2 separate regions of the Homo sapiens genome follow, and region 1 is linked to region 2. The links are contacts of gene promoters, found by promoter capture Hi-C in human tissues and cell types (Jung and others, 2019). All regions are on one chromosome and are shown on one strand. The core of a region is centred on a gene start or on the middle of the fragment in contact, and the rest is flanking DNA. Distances in the headings are between cores, read along the strand shown.

The links. The method cuts DNA at HindIII sites, captures the fragments that hold promoters and counts their contacts. A contact is called where the count stands out against the background at its distance.
Region 1: a fragment that was not itself captured here is called in contact with the fragment with the promoter of SULT1E1 in region 2 in 1 of the 25 tissues and cell types used here (dorsolateral prefrontal cortex).

The regions. Positions count from the first base shown.
Region 1 is chr4:68,620,733-68,623,432 of GRCh38, forward strand. No RefSeq gene overlaps it. Among named protein-coding and RNA genes, the nearest start is that of UGT2B17, 46 kb to the left of the region's middle. The HindIII fragment of the contact is 5,524 bases long and covers 1-2,700 here.
Region 2 is chr4:69,858,722-69,861,421 of GRCh38, forward strand. SULT1E1 (sulfotransferase family 1E member 1) reads right to left here and starts at 1,424. Exons shown (of 8, transcript NM_005420.3): 1 at 1,328-1,424. The HindIII fragment of the contact is 19,346 bases long and covers 1-2,700 here.

The sequences.
Region 1 (2,700 bases), core at 158-2,657, 1.2 Mb before region 2:
CTGCCTTAAAAGAGCTCCTGAAGGAAGCACTAAATATGGAAAGGAACAACTGGTACTAGCCACTGCAAAAACATGCCAAATTGTAAAGACCATTGATGTTAGGAAGAAACTGCATCAACTAACAGGCAAAATAACCAGCTAACATCACAATGACAGGATCAAATTCACACATAACAATATTAACCTTAAAGGTAAATTGGCTAAATGCCCCAGTTAAAAGACAAAGACCGGCAAATTGAATAGAGTCCAGACCCATCAGTGTGCTATATTCAGGAGACCCATCTCACGTGCAGAGACACACATAGGCTCAAATAAAGGGTTGGAGGAAGATCTAACAACCAAACGGAAAACAAAAAAAAGCAGGGGTTGTAATCCTAGTCTCTGATAAAACAGACTTTAAATCAACAAAGATCAGGAGACAAAGAAAGCCATTACATAATGATAAAGGGATCAATTCAACAAGAAGAGATAACTATTCTAAATATATATGCACTGAATACAGGAGCACCCAGATTCATAAGGCAAGTCCTTGGAGACCTACAAAGAGACTTAGGCTCCCACACGATAGTAAAGGGAGACTTTAACACCCCACTGTCAATATTAGACACATCCATGAAACAGAAGGTTAACAAGGATATCCAGGACTTGAACTCAGCTCTGCAACGAGCAGACCTAATAGACATCTACAGAACTCTCCACCCAAAAGTCAACAGAATATGCATTCTTCTTGGAACCACATCACACTTGTTCCAAAACTGACCACATAGTTGGAAGTAAAGCCCTCCACAACAAATGTAAAAGAACAGAAATAACAACAAACTGTCTCTCAGACCACAGTACACTGAAATTAGAACTCAGGATTAAGAAACTCACTCAAAACCACACAACTACATGGAAACTCAACAACCTGCTCCTGCATGACTACTGTGTAAATAACAAAATGCAGGCAGAAGTAAAGATGTTCTTTGACACCAATGAGAACAAAGACACAATATACCATAATCTCTGGGACACCTTTAAAGCAGTGTGTAGAAGGAAATTTATAGTACTAAATGCCCACAAAAGAAAGCAAGAAAAATCTAAAATCAACACCCTAACATCACAATTAAAAGAACTAGAGAAGCAAGAGTAAACACATTCAAAAGCTAGCAGAAGGCAAGCAATACCTAAGATTAGAACAGAACTGAAGGAGATAGAGACACACAAAAAAACCCTTCAAAAAAATCAATGAATCCAGGAGCTGGTTTTTTGAAAAGATCAACAGCAAGTATTGTAGAACAGCAAACATTGCTGCCTGATCCTTCCTCTGGAAGCTTCATCTCAGAGGGGCACCTGGCTGCATGAGGTGTCAGTTGGCCCCTACTCAGAAGTGTCTCCCAGTTAGGCTACCCAGGGGCCAGAGACCCACTTGAGGAGGCAGTCTGTCCATTTCAGAGCTCAAACACCATGGTGGGAGAACCACTGCTCTCTTCAGAGCTGTCAGACAGGGATGTTTAAGTCTGCAGAAGCTTCTGCTGCCTTTTGTTCAGCTATGCCCTGCCAGCAAAGGTGGAGTCTACAGAGGTAGGCAGGCCTCCTTGAGCTGTGGTGGGCTCCACCCAGTTCAAGCGTCCTGGCTGCTTTGTTTACCTACTCAAGCCTCAGCAATGGCGAATGCCCCTCCCCCAGCCAGTCTGCCTCCTTGCAGTTGGATCTTGGACTGCTGTGCTAGCAGTGAGCAAGGCTCCATGGGCATGGGACCCACTGAGCCAGGCATGGGATGTAATCTCCTGGGTGTGTCATTTGCTGAGACCATTGGAAAAGTGCAGTATTAAGGTGGGAGTGTCCTGATTTTCCTGGTAGAGTCTGTCATGGCTTCCCCTGGCTAGGAAAGGGAAATCCCCCAACCCCTTGCACCTCCGGGGTGAGGCGATGCCCCGCCCAGCTTCAGCCTGCCTTCCGTGGGCTGCACCCACTGTCCAACCAGTCCCAGTGAGATGAACCAGGTACCTCAGTTGAAAATGCAGAAATCACCCATCTTCTGCATTGATCATGCTGGGAGCTGCAGACCAGAGCCGTTCCTGTTCAGCCATCTTGGTTCATCACTATAGACACGTTACAAAGGAAGATATACAAGCAGCCAACAAGCATATGAACAAAAAGGTCAATATCACTGATCATTAGGGAAATGCAAATTGTAACCACAGTGAGATACCACTGATCATTAGATAAATGCAAATCAAAACCACAGTGAGATACTATTTCACACAAGTAAGAGTGGCTATAATTAGTCAAAAAATAGCAGATACTGGTGAGGTTGCAGAGCAAAGGGAACATTTATACACTGTTGGTGGAAGTATAAATTAGTTCAACCATTGTGGAAAGAGGTGTGGTGATTACTCAAAAAGCTAAAAGCAGAACTACCATTTGACCCAGCAGTCCTATTACTGGATATATGCCCAAAGGAATATGTATCATTCTACCATAAAGACACATGTACATTTATGTTCATTGCAGCACTGTTCACAATAGGAAAGATATGGAATCACCTAAATGCCCATCAGTGGTAGACTGGATAAAGAATATATGGTACATATACACCATGGAATACTATGCAGCCATAAAAAAGACTGAGATCATGTACTTTGCAGGCACATGGATGGAGCTGGAGACCATCATCCTTAGCAAACTAACACAGGAACAGAAAACCAAATGCTGCAT
Region 2 (2,700 bases), core at 174-2,673:
GCATATTAGCCTTATCAATAAATCACTTGTTCCCCAAGCCTTCTCCTTAGTCTCAGAAAATAGATCTTTCACTAGAAGAAATGTGTATAAAATGCACCACGATTTGTCCTGCCTATTGGTTTGCTTACTCATGTGAATTACTTTCTTGGTGTTCAGCCAAGTTTATAAGAATTGGCTTATAGTCAGCTGGGAGTGGTAGATTTATCATTAAGTGGTTGGCTGACTTCCAGCTACTCCTTCATAGTCAATTTTGGTCTGAGAGGCAAAGTAGGTGGCATGTAATAAAATATCTTTTCTCATTCTATTCCTTTTGGTAAATTGTCTCATATTACAATGTATGGATTTACTTCCTATGTGATCCCCATTTTCTCAAAAGATCTATTTCAGTTAGAAATTGTCAATTTTTTATTCTGAGTATGTAGGTCAGTTGTTCAGAAATAAACATCAAAAAAGTTGTTAAAATTGTGACTTATAAATTCAATTAAACTCAGAAAGTGTTTTTCCTTCCCGCTCTCCTTCCTCTCTTTCTTCCTTTCTTTCTGCATACTCCCCTCCTGCATCTTCCAACCTGCCTTTTATCCAGCAAATACTCCCTATGTGAATGCCTACCCTTTTCCTAGGCCCTGTAGTCAGTGCTAGAATACTATGGTGGATATAGATACATAGGGTTCTCATAGTCCCTACTTTCTTAGATTTACCTGTATGAGGGCAAAGTGACTTTTGTACATGTTTCTATCCCAATCTCCAGCACTATGACACAAAGTAGATGTTCAGAAATATTTGTTAAGTTCAATTATTAGATCAAGAAGCTCTCTAGTTTCTACTAAGTAAGGATTCACAGATTTAAAAGGCAATATATGTCAATGACCTACATATTAATTATTTACCAAGGACTTTGGATTTCTGTCATATTTATCTGAAGTTTCTTACATGAAAGTAATGCCCCTATTTGCAAGACCCCTTATCACAGGAACACAAAACTAAAAGTCAATCTCTATTCTACCTCCTTCTACCCTGCTTGCTTTATTTTCTCATTGGTAAAATGGAGAACACGTCCAGCATTCAGCACTTTTAAGATAGCAATGGTACTGTAATTTTACATTAAAGCAATAAGCAACAAAATACTACATAAATGTAAAATATTATTTTTAACAACAAATTATTTTAAAAGGTTTTAAATGCTTCACATCATTAATTAACTAAAGTATCAATCAAGACTTTGGTCTTTGTATATTTTATTTTTAAGAGCTTTGTAATACATAATTTTCATTCTATATTTTATATATCTAAAATCTAAGTATTGATATTAATAATAAAAAAGTACAACCTGTTTAGTTGATCCTGTGAAAGAAATTGATCTAGTTTATATCTCTTCAAATACCAAGGCAGATCTTAAGCTGCAAAAAAAGATGAGAACCACTTCTGCATTTGGAATGTTTCTGGTGAGTTTATATCCTGAATGCCAGAGAAGGAGGTGGAGATTAATTTGGGGGCTTGGCTTCATGAAGTCCATGATGCAATAGTTAATGTAGATGTAAATGCATACCTGCAGCTGCAGTAACCACACAGAGTCATGTTCATTCATGGAGATGTAGAAATATCCTGCTGTTATTTTTTTAATTATTTGGCTCATATTCAAATTCCCAAGTCTGCCGTCAGGGGTTGGGGAAGAAGGAGGGAGAAAAGGAAAAGATGAGAAAGAAGAGGCCTGGGAAGAGAGACTGGGAAGGGAGAATCCCTTATTCACTCATTGACAAATAATAGCATGACTATGGTTAACTTTCAAAAGAATAAACTTATTGGAGTGAAGAAAGAGAAGCCAATGAGGAAAGAAATAAGACAGCAAGGACCCTCAATCAGACCTAGCTCAGTTTATTAAGACCTGCCAAAGAAGTCATTGGGTTGTATCTTAACATGTCAATTGGAAAACACCTATTTAAACTCTTTGCCTTTAACTCTTAAGCAGACCTGAAAATTTTAAAAAGCAGATGACAGCTAAAGAAAGAATGTAAACATCACTCACCTTTCGATTATTATTTTAGAAACCTGACTTCTCTCTGCTCCCAACCACAAAATAGCATACTGTGAATTTTTCAGGTAATGATAGCTACCAACACTTGGAATTTACACAAGAGAATTAGAAAAATAAATGGCCAAGGGTTTGTGGAATCCACAAATGCATTACCTTTCTTTTCATTTTTCTGCACCTACTCTGTCACTTAAGAAAATTATCCTTTGCTCCACCCCATCAACACCTCCAACCCTGTTATTTCTTATTTCTCTATTAATTACTGTTAGATTACATTTCCTTTGAGAGGCTCACTCTTACAAGACTCTATGTTTCTCTTAGTGACTTTTAAACTTTGAACTTTCTCCTAACTAGTATTTATTTTACTGTGTTGTAAATCAATGTTTGCTTGTCCAGAGTACTTTTTAAATTATAAATAGCTTGAAAACAGGGTCTTACTCTGTAATTAGCATTTTTTTCTGGCATCTAGTAGGCTAGGCATTGAATATGTATTTACTGAATAAAAGTGGCTGATTTATTCAAGAAATATAAGAAGTTAAGGGGGCTATAGTTGTTATAGAAAGCAATATCTAGCCTTATGCAAAATAAGAGGTGTTAAGTGGTTTCTGAAAAATGGGGCTTTTCATAATAGAAAATTAAGGTAGAAAAGGAGTAACCAGGGACCCAAATTT